Regions from separate parts of the Homo sapiens genome. Here all the other regions are linked to region 3. The links are contacts of gene promoters, found by promoter capture Hi-C in blood cells and fetal thymus (Javierre and others, 2016). All regions are on one chromosome and are shown on one strand. Each heading gives the region's core, a stretch centred on a gene start or on the middle of the fragment in contact. The rest is flanking DNA. Distances are from core to core; before and after follow the strand shown.

What was found. The method cuts DNA at HindIII sites, captures the fragments that hold promoters and counts their contacts. A CHiCAGO score of 5 or more calls a contact.
Region 1: a contact is called between a fragment that was not itself captured here and the fragment with the promoter of WASHC5-AS1 in region 3, in 10 of 17 cell types (megakaryocytes, M2 macrophages, M0 macrophages and 7 more). The highest score is 13.3, in megakaryocytes.
Region 2: a contact is called between a fragment that was not itself captured here and the fragment with the promoter of WASHC5-AS1 in region 3, in 6 of 17 cell types (erythroblasts, megakaryocytes, endothelial precursors and 3 more). The highest score is 13.2, in erythroblasts.
Region 4: a fragment that was not itself captured here is called in contact with the fragment with the promoter of WASHC5-AS1 in region 3 in 9 of 17 cell types (megakaryocytes, M1 macrophages, erythroblasts and 6 more); the score reaches 17.2 in megakaryocytes.

What each region holds. Positions count from the first base shown.
Region 1 is chr8:124,588,707-124,591,406 of GRCh38, forward strand. It overlaps MTSS1 (MTSS I-BAR domain containing 1), which reads right to left. Exons shown (of 14, transcript NM_014751.6): 4 at 2,445-2,529; 5 at 914-1,005. Among named protein-coding and RNA genes, the nearest start is that of NDUFB9, 51 kb to the left of the region's middle. The HindIII fragment of the contact is 2,738 bases long and covers 1-2,653 here.
Region 2 is chr8:124,548,733-124,551,432 of GRCh38, forward strand. NDUFB9 (NADH:ubiquinone oxidoreductase subunit B9) reads left to right here. Exons shown (of 4, transcript NM_005005.3): 4 at 1,029-1,247. The coding sequence ends at 1,160. It overlaps MTSS1 (MTSS I-BAR domain containing 1), which reads right to left. Exons shown (of 14, transcript NM_014751.6): 14 at 2,052-2,700. Among named protein-coding and RNA genes, the nearest start is that of NDUFB9, 11 kb to the left of the region's middle. The HindIII fragment of the contact is 729 bases long and covers 1,076-1,804 here.
Region 3 is chr8:125,039,347-125,042,046 of GRCh38, forward strand. It overlaps WASHC5-AS1 (WASHC5 antisense RNA 1), which reads left to right and starts at 1,338. Exons shown (of 2, transcript NR_170219.1): 1 at 1,338-1,433. It overlaps WASHC5 (WASH complex subunit 5), which reads right to left. Exons shown (of 29, transcript NM_014846.4): 24 at 449-552. The HindIII fragment of the contact is 6,314 bases long and covers 1-2,700 here.
Region 4 is chr8:124,568,966-124,571,665 of GRCh38, forward strand. All of the region lies in intron 6 of MTSS1 (MTSS I-BAR domain containing 1), which reads right to left. All of the region lies in intron 1 of LOC105375740 (a long non-coding RNA gene), which reads left to right. Among named protein-coding and RNA genes, the nearest start is that of NDUFB9, 31 kb to the left of the region's middle. The HindIII fragment of the contact is 8,842 bases long and covers 1-2,700 here.

The DNA.
Region 1 (2,700 bases), core at 35-2,534, 450 kb before region 3:
TTTTCACTTCTTTGGAGGGTTAGGGGGAGGCAGTGTCTTGCTCTGTCACCCAGGCTGGAGTGCAGTGGTGCAATCTCTGCTTACTGCAACCTCTGCCTCCTGGGTTCAAACAATTCTCGTGTCTCAGCCTCCCGAGTAGTTGGGATTACAGGCATGCACCACCACACCTGGATACTTTTTGTATTTTTAGTAGCCATAGGGTTTCACCAAGTTGGCCAGGCTGGTCTCAGACTCCTGGACTCAAGTGATCTGCCCACCTGAGCCTCCTGAAGTGCTGGAATTACAGGTGTGAGCCACTGCACCCGGCCTATGATTTCTTCTTTTTCTTTTTTTTTGTTTTTTGAGATGGAGTCTCACTCTGTCGTCCAGGCTGGAGTACAATGGTGCAATCTTGGCTCACTGCAACCTCTGACTCCCGGGTTCAAGCGATTTTTGTGTCTCAGCCTCCCAAGTAGCTGGGATTACAGGCACCCACCACCATGCTTGGCTAATTTTTGTGTTTTTAGTAGAGATGGGGTTTCAACATGTTGGCCAGGCTGGTCTCAAACTCCTGACCTCAAGTGATCCGCCCGCCTCGGCCTCCCAAAGTGCCGGGATTACAGGTCTGAGCCACCGCGCCCACCCTGTGATTTATTCTTAATTCAGCTGAATACAATTCATGCCACTGAGGGATCAGACTATCAGCTGCTGAATGTTGTTTCACACCAAAGAAACAGCACTCAGCCTCACAACGGGATCACTTTGTTCTCCTCATCCCCTGACACGGACGTGCCTACAGGAGAGTAGGGACAGAGTGGGCCCTTGGCTGTTTTGGTGACACCAATAAACCTAGCAGAGGGGCCAGGCAGCAGCTGGCAACTTCCCACAGCGCCCCCCAGCGTGCAGTGATGCGCTAGACATCTCGCCCCTGTACCTTTTGCGTGGTCTTTATCCAGCTGGTTGGCCACTTTCTTCCATTCTTCCATCTGTTCTTGAAGTGGGTTTATCAGACAATCAATTAAAGCGCTTTTACCAAGCGGGGGGGAAAAAGGGAGAAATTAAATAGATACATTCTGTTGTCAGGATTTAAATGTGGTTGTCAAAACATACCTAAATCACAATTACCCGAAACGTTCTCATCTAAACCCCGGGGCTCCAGAACAGCCATGTTCCAAGAATGCTTTTCTTTTAAGACAGAGTCTCGCTCTGTCACCAGGCTGGAGTGCAGTGGCGCGATCTCGGCTCACTGCAACCACCACCTCCCAGGTTCAAGCGATTCCCCTGCCTCAGCCTCCCAGGTAGCTGGGACTACAGGAACACATCACCATGCCCAACTAATTTTTTGTATTTTAGTAGAGATGGGTTTTCACCATGTTGGCCAGGATGGTCTTGATCTCCTGACCTCATGAGCCGCCTGCCTTGGCCTCCCAAAGTGCTGGGATTACAGGCGAGAGCCACCGCGCCTGGCCCCAAGAATGTTTTTCAATGACTACTAAGAAGCTGTCAATGTGACTGGTGGGAGTGACCCTTCTTCCCATTTTCCCTGTGATATTCTAGTGTTTGTATTAACAAGCCAAGTTGCAGAACCACAGGGGTCACCCCTCTGAGAGCTGCACAACAGGGACCCCCAAAATGCAAAGACACCTGGGCCTTATCTCACCCCCAATGGAGACTTTGAGGGTGGGGCCCAGCATCACTATTTTTAAAAAAGACCCACAAGATTCTGCTGTGCATGCGGCATGACAGGTCATAAATATACACTAAGTATGCACAGCCTGGAGAAAGAGAAGAGTGACGAGACCCAGAAAATTCTCGAGCTGCACTGCCAGCCTCGGGGTTACTGAGGGGTGAAGGTCTCTGAAGGTGTGCCCCTTCATTTTGTGCAGTCTCCCAAACAGAATCACATAAAACTGCTGAATGATGCTGATCTGCTTGGAAAGCAATGTCCATTTTCACTTGAACATTTGTAACCCAATTCCGGTGCCAGCTACTACCATTTCTTCCCTATTCTGGATGCCTGGAAGCCAGATGGGAAGCTGGCGGTGTGGAGTGGTCTGTGAGCTGCCACATCCCTCAGTGAGTCTGGAGGATGCACACAGGATACCAAGGCACATCTCACTCTCCAATTTCACAGCCCCTCTTCTTGCGAGGCTCCCGCAGGGCAGTGGGGGCCCAAAAGACCTCAGCAGGCTGCACCGGCTCCTTGCACAGACAAAGGGTAAGGAGAGACCCATGCAGGAGCACAGGCTCTGTGAAGGCAGGGGCCTGGCTGGCTGGTGATCTGCTGCACCCCCAGGGCCTCGACCAGTGCCTGGTATGCAGCAGATGCCTAACAATACTCAGGCAATGAATGAGCCAAGTCAGACAGATTGTGGGGATTTAAATGCTGTGTGCCACACATGACTGCTTCCTTAACCTGAAATCTGCAAGGGTGTTGGCGATCGGGGCCAAAACATGCTCCTCACCTCGAAAACTGCCTCAGCTTGGCTTCAATGCTTCTGTGCCTCATGCACATCCTGGTGAGAGCAGATCCAATCTCCCTGGTCCCACCTGAAAAAGCAACAGAGGCAAAGGTGAGGGATAGAAGACTAGCAGGGATCATGGAGGTCTTTAGAGAACTTTACAAACAAGTCAGATTTCACCACATTGTAAAATATAAGCCACCATCTTTAGAAGCTTCTCACCATGCCCATGTGTGCATACACACAGGCACATGTAAAC
Region 2 (2,700 bases), core at 190-2,689, 490 kb before region 3:
TAAAAAAAAACAAAGTCAAGCCAGTGGGGGCAGATGCAGAGAGGGAAGGCCAAGTTGGGAGGATCTGTGAATTGGTAGTCTGAGTTTCAAGGAGGCATTTAAACAAATGAGTGGGAAAGGGAGAGTGTGGTTGGATAGTGGGATATTTGAATTCATGATTTGGAAGTTGTGCTGGTTCTGGTGATAACACTGAGGATATTGACCTTTGGAAGTGTTTGGCCAAGGGGGACCCGAAGGAAGGGCACTGTGGCCAAAGGGGGCAGTGTTTTGTCAGAAATGTCTCACCGTTTAGAAGCTTGAAGTATATGCATGGTGAGCCGCAGGTGCATTCTGCAATTGATCACTGGGATAACATCAAACAATTCCTCCTTTACACATCCCATCACTTCAACACTATTAAGCAGCACGTGTGACTGGAGGCCCAGGGCAGCCACAATCCAGAATGGGTGATCTTCTGTTAGGACATTTATCTTGGCCATAACTAGAACTGGAGGTAGTAGGGCAGCACTTGGCAGAACTGAGCATATTTTTACATGTAATTTTGTGATTTATTTTTGTTCTTGGTTGCTAGGAAGGGGGCTTAGAATTAACATCCCCAGCATATTATGAACTGAGGTTTCTTAATGGTGCTTTTGGAGAACACTTAGCTGAGACACAACAATAAATGTTTTTCTGGTCAGTGGGTGGGGGCTGTGACAAGGAGAATTGGAATGATAGTTGTCATTTTTCTGTCTGCAGAATAAGAGGAGGTCCAGATAATGAGGTGATGAAAAGGGGTAGGGGGAAGAATAGGAAGGGTAGGCTTTGCTATTTAAAAGAATGGGAAAACCCTTAAGGAGACTTTTCTAAAAGTGTGGATATGAAAATAAAGCAGGTATATGTAAAAAACACTTTTCAATATTGTGATCAGATAGTGTGTAATGTCAGTGACACACCATAGACATAAAGCTGACCCTTCACTGCAGCAGACAGATTTTTATAGTCAATTAGATTCCTTTGGTAATGATTCCTTCCTTGCCTCCTTCTAGGTTAAGCAGCTGCAGGAGGAAACGCCACCTGGTGGTCCTTTAACTGAAGCTTTGCCCCCTGCCCGAAAGGAAGGTGATTTGCCCCCACTGTGGTGGTATATTGTGACCAGACCCCGGGAGCGGCCCATGTAGAAAGAGAGAGACCTCATCTTTCATGCTTGCAAGTGAAATATGTTACAGAACATGCACTTGCCCTAATAAAAAATCAGTGAAATGGTCTCTGGTATGACTGACGTTCTTCTAAGAATTACTGTGATGCCAAGTGACTGTGCCACTGTCATTGTTTTATCAATCGTGCATGTAAAGAAAATGACAGGACATGTAGTCAGTCAGCTGTGTTCTCTGCAATAAATCACTGATAGCATATGTTACCAGTAAGGAAAAACTGAGGCAGAACCAGATTGAGGCGAACAAACTCTCAAGTCAAAGGCCTAATTAGCTGTGGTAACTAGAAGGAATAAACAAAGCCAAGAACAGAAATACTGAGGATTTAAAAATAACCTTTTTGGTTTTCTAAAGATTTCACTAATGGAACTTAGTTTTTATTAGAAGAACAACTCTCCCTAAGAAGTACATAGTCAACAAATAAGCATGGAATTTGTGGAGTTCTGTCAGGGGTGGAGGTTTGATGGTTGGGGTTAAATGGTCCAATCTGGGATAAAACTTTGTGGCGCTTATTTTAGAAGCAGTTTTCCAGCTTTGCTTCTGCTACCGTAGCTTGGATTGTCTGCGGACTCAAAGGTAAGGGAATAACAGAACTCCTTAAATGTTTCAGAAGCTTTGTTTTTGTTTTTTAAAGATAAAGCAGTTTTTAAAACTTTCAACCCAAAACAGCTGCTTTTAGTTCTTGATCCCTCATTAGCTAGAACTGTTTTCAAATAGTTTCAGGCAACTAATGATCTTATAGCCATCACAAAAATATTTTGTCACTTTTCTACGTAAGCTCAATTTGAGTCCCAGTCCATCTTCTAACATTTGACTAAGACCTCAAACTGAATTGTAACAAGACTTGAAATACAGGACTTTTTTAATCTAGTGGTTCTTTATTTATAACGTAGGCTGAAGCAATTGTTACAATGTAGGAGGGAGACACATTACACAATTGTTATTTATACAAGTTTAGAACAAAAAACTGCACAGGGAGAGGTCAACTCTCAGTACAAACTAGCAACTAAAGCACAATAATTTACTGTTAGAAACGATTTCTTTCTTTTTAGCTGTGACACTGCTTTTACAATATGCAAAAACACAAGCAGAACTACCCAAGGTGTGTTGTCACATTCTTTCTACATTGAATTTGGCAACATTTTATTTATTCAGATTATACTAACGTTTAAAAACTAAACAAGTGAAAAGCTGTACCAAGGTACAGTTACATCCATTTATTTCAAAGGTTTAAAATACCACTTTTATCTATTGTGATTACCTTGCAGCGATTTCTGCTTTTGCAAAAACCATCTCAAGCATCATATGCACAATGCATCAGCTACTTTTAGTCATCAAGATTGGTGGGCTAAACCACAGGCACTACTGTTGTTTATATTCTGTAAAAGGAGCTTGTTTTTCAAAGAAAAAAGCTTAAATAGTTTCTAATAATCATGCCTTTGCTTTAAAGCCGTAACATAAAATGTCCTTGAGCAATCGCAGCAGTGTTCAATGTTAATATATAGAA
Region 3 (2,700 bases), core at 88-2,587:
CCTCCATAACCACTCTTGGTAATCAACACACTTCCAACTGCCCTCTGGATGATGAGTGATCAGCCCTGTAAAAAGCCAGTTGCGGATTTTGGTAATAATTGCTTTCTAAAATCTGTGCAAGTATCTAGCAGTGTCTGGTGTGTCTCTCACTCGCTCTCTCTAATGAATTCATTTGTTCAGCAGACATGTATTGAATCATGTGATCAGTACCTGTCTGCTGAATACACGAATCCATTAGAGAGAGTGAGTGAGAGACAGAGATAAACGGAGGGACAATACTGAGGAAAGAGGCTCCGAAGACAGATTTGATTATCCGTGGCAAGGAAGCCTGTAAATTCAGACCTTCCACCCAAAAATAACTTAAAAGAGTAAGAACTGAAGAAACTGGGGTGCGTAGATAATAAACAATCCAAGCCCACGGATGGCTGTTTCAAACCCTGGCACTTACTTATTGAGATTCTCCAGAGCAGCTGCCAGATGTTTAGAATCAAACCGACAAGAATAATTTAATTCATTGGCAATCTGTTGTCTCAGAATCTGCATCTGCCCAACCTGTGCACAAGCAAGAGAAAGAACAGGTAGTGCATTCAAGCATTTCAGAGTGACAGTGAGGAGGTAAACACAAAGATGACAATTCTTCACTGGGCCTTCACATCACTCTACAGGAAAAAAAATAAGGATTTCCTGAACTGATCTCTTGGCTAAGACCAGCACTGGATCTAATGAAGCACCAGAGGCCCTTCAAGGAATGTCTGGATGGATTCCCATACCCCAACCTAAAAATACCCCAAAGTCTATGATTCACAAAGTGATCTATTAATGTTCAGTTGTTCATGTATCAAAGATGTCTTTTTTGAAGCTATATTTTTAACCTTTTGGAATAAGTGCTCCAAATTTAGTAGCTGCTGTGAGAAGTCTTACTTACTTCCTTTTATTTATCCTAAATGGAACTTTCTCAAGCTCTAGGAATGCCATTTCACACTAGTATTCTCAAATTGGGTGAATATTAAGTCTGTCCATGCCACTCAGGATTATAGGTTCTATAATTATCTGGATTACAAAATAATCTACATAAAATCTTTCACGAAAATTTTAACAATGATAGCCCCTTAATCCAGGGTTCTTAATTTTTTTTGTGTGTCTGATATGGTTTGGCTGTGCCCCCACCCAAATTTCATCTTGAATTGTAGTTCCCATAATCCCCATGTGTCATGGGAGGGACCCAGTGGGAGGTAATTGAATTATGGGGGTGGTTACCTCCATACTGTTCTCGTAATAGTGGATGAGTTCTCACGAGATCTGATGGTTTTATAAGAGGCTTTTCTCCTTTTGATTATATTTCTCTTTCCTGTTGCCATGTGAAGAAGGACATGTTTGCTTCCACTTCCACCATGGTTGTAAGTTTCCTGAGGCCTCCACAGCCATGCTGAACTGTGAGTCAATCGAACCTCTTTCCTTTATAAATTACCCAGTCTTGAGTATGTCTTTATTATGTGAGAATTGACTAATATAGCCTTGGACCCCTTTGGGAATCTGGTGAAGCCTATGGACACCATTTCAGAATAACGTTTTTGAATGTACAAAATAAAACATAGAGGGTAACAGTGGAAGCCAGTTGTAATGAAATATAATTAACCATTCAAAGAACAAATCTGTGATATAGAGTTATGCTAGGATGGTGTATTAACTACAGTACTTTAAAAGTAGCTATGAGCATAAATGATACTTGGAGATTATCTGCAATGGTTGGATGATAGGAAGCGATCTTTGGGTCAGGCTTGAGAGTTCAGTTTGCCCTCATAATGTTGTCTGCATCATAAGGTCAACAGCACACTCTAACTTTTTCTGCCTATAAATGTCTTCTTTTCTACTCGGACAAAGTATTCCTAAAAGACTGGCAAAGGGGAGTGAGGGAGGTGGGGAGAGGAGGGAAGACAGTATTATAATGCAAGCAGCAATAAGGTGGAAATAAATGCATTTCCTCTGAGTTGCTGGGGGCAGAGAAGAGTTAAGGAAAAGACAGGGGCTCACGCCTGCAATCCCAGCACTTTGGGAGGCCGAGGCAGGCTGATCGCTTGAGGCTAGGAGTTCGAGACCAAGCCTGGCCAAAATGGTAAAACTCTGTTTCTACTAAAAATAAAAAAATTAGCTGGGTATGGTGGTGGACACCTGTAATCCCAGATACTTGGAAGGCTGAGGTATGAGAAACACTTGAACCCAGGAGGTAGAGGTTGCAGTGAGCCAAGATTGTGCCACTGCACTCCAGCCCAGGCGACAGAGTGAGACTGTCTCAAAAAAAAAAGAAAAGGAGGGTGGCCTTCTCTAAGAATGAGCAAAAGTTACTTAGCTAAATGGAGCTTGTAATGGTCAAAAGTATTAAATGACCTCAGATGTATTATTTTTGACCACTATTCATACAAGACTATTACTCTATTTATGTGAAAAACGTCAATCCAAAAATGCTATTTATAAATAGGAAGTGTTTGAATTTATAGAGTAGCATTATTTAAAAATTAGAATGCAGCAAATCCAAGAAAATAGTAGGTTCTTTCAGGCCACATAAAAATGTCCCTGAAACCCTGTATCTGGCCCATATAATTCTTTGCTTAATTTTCTATGTGTAGTATACTCTGTGTCAAGGATCCTCTTGAAAATATCAATCTAGAACTGGAAATAGAAATAAAGTCAGTTTAATATAAC
Region 4 (2,700 bases), core at 26-2,525, 470 kb before region 3:
TCAATCTCAATCAAAGAGCCTCTGTCTGGATAGAAGGATCTGCTCCTAAAGACAAAGGTGGCAAGCATCCGCTCTCCTGGCTCTGGGGGCCCATGGGAATCCTTGGCAGTTCCTTTGACTCTCTAGTGGAGAGTCTTGAATGCTCTTGCTGTAGAACAAGCCCAGTAATAACAAGACCTCCAGACAGGTCTCTGATGATGAAAAACTGAAAGTGGGGTCTATGCGGAGCCTGGCCCATGTTTAGGAATTATCTGGCCAGGTCCACAGACCCCAGTTAGGTGCAGGCAACCACTTCTGGAGTTTAAGACAGGGTGTTAGTCTTTTGAATGACTAACACATGGTCAGCAAACCATCTTTGCAAATAAAGTTTTATTAGAACACAGCCAAATCCATTTATTTACCATATTGCCTGTACCAGTTCTCCCTACAATGGCAGAGTAGTGTGACACAGAGTATGGCCCCCAGACCATGGCCTCTTGCAAAAGAAGCCTGCTGCCCTAAAAGATAAACATGGACCAAGAGGCACTGTGTCCAAAGGAGCAGCTACTACAAATCTGATCTGTAGGTGGGGACAGCAGGGTGACAGCAGGGGACACCAGCTCATGAGCTTCCACCTTGGGCTGCCTATGCAGGGGCCTTACCTATCACTCAAACCAGAGAGATACTTCCTAAACTTCTTCAGGGCAGGATTTTGGTCTTTCCCAGCACAGCCCCTAGTACAATGTCATGTGTGTATACAGCAGGTGCTTGATAAATGTCTGTTTAATAGTTTCAACACAAAATGTTAGAGCTGGAAGGGGTTATCCAATTGGGCCAATCTGCTCATGTTTCAATGGAGACCAAGTCCTAGAGAAGTCAAGGGACTCACCTAAGGTCACAGAAAGAATGGTACAGAGGCAGGGTTGAGCCACACTGCCTAATTCCCTTAACACTGAACCTATTCTCTGCCCCACCGCCTCGCAGGAAGGGCCCTGCAGTTTCCATCTATCCCTCTTAGTGATGTAGAGAACATTAAATGCAATGAACCATTTGGTCTGAAGAAAGAAAGGGTCAGGGAAAATTGCCTTGGATGTAGGAACATATTCTGTATTTTTCACTCATAAGCAGAGGAGAAAGTTTAATTTGGAGCAAGAGGCAATCAGGCTTAAAGCACATCCCAATAGAAAAGGTAGTCAGATTTTAGTAAGGAAAAGTCACTTCTCAGACAGGGAATAAGTTCTAAGTTAGCACATTATGAGAAAATTATAGTCAAAGATCACCCTTGAAAATGCCTTAGATGGCCAGTAAATACAGTATGGACAGCTTTGTGTATATAACTCTCATCAGTCAAGTGAGTACAAATGTGTAGATAGTATGTATCTAAGTCCACGGAGGGGTGCTACCCAACGATTATACTACACTGGCCCCTCCTCTGTGGTTTTGCTTTCCAAAGTTTCAGCTACCCATGGTGTGGTAAAATACGGTATTTTGAAAGAGAGAAAGAGACTACATTCGCATGACTTTTATTACAGTATATTGTTATAATTGTTCTATTATTATTGTTGTTAATCTCTTACTGTGCCTAAATTATGTATTAAACTTTACCATAGACATGTATGCATGGGAAAAACCACAGTATATGTAAGGTTCGGGTACTATCTGCAGTTTTAGGCATCCACGGGGGGTCTTGGAACATATCCCCTGAGGAGAAGGGGGAACTACTATATATAAGAAATTTGCTGCTTGAGAAGTCTCTGCATAATTTTCTCCTTTTTGGAGACAGAGTCTTGCTCTGTCACTCAGGCTGGAGTGCAGTGGAATGATCATAGCTCATTGCAGCCTCAGCCTCTTAAGCAGCTGGGACTACCAGCGTGCACCACCATGCCCAGCTAGTTTTTCAATTTTTTTTTATAAAGATTGGGTCTTGCTTTATTGGCCAGACGGTCTTGAACTCCTGGCCTCAAGTGATCCTCCCACCTCAGCCTCCCAAAGTGCTGGGATTACAGACATGAGCCACAGCGCCTGGGTGTTTCAGCATATTTTCAAGGTGACCCACTCACCCATTCTTCCATGTAGTCACTACCTCCACCCCTCAGAATAATTCTTTACCATGCCTTCAATTTCTTCCTCAAGGATGTAGGAGTAATCATCACCATACATTAATCTGGCCACCTGAGCCACTGGTTTCATGTGTTTTTAGTAGACAAGAAACCTGTAAAAACATTCTCCCATTCTCTCCTGGAATCTGCCTCAGGGCAGGTGCTCTGTTCACAGAGACCCACCACCTGTGGCCAACGGCTTACAGAGGGAAGGCTGGGTGCCACCAGCACTATGAAAACTGTGAGTTTTCTCTTCTATTTTAAAATGCTGGCTAGTGCAAAATTAATCCAGATATACTTAATGTGTGTATGATACGAGTCCACCAGCAGGGAAGCTCTGGAAAGCTGTAAACCCTTGCTTTTCCTCTGCAAGCAGCCAAACAGCATGGCCAATTGTGGGCCTTGTTGGGTCACATGACTCAGGGCTGGTCTAGAGGGCTACTTCTAGTCTCTCGATCTATTCTATGATGTTCTAATAACAAAACACAGAGGGCTGCAGACCACCTCAGAATGTTCTCAACTCTCGTGTAGGATGGTGAACAGAAGTCGGGAGACACCAGATTGAGACACATTGTGTTTGACCAAACTTGCTCGGTGGGCTTTGATTATGGTAGCAATTTAA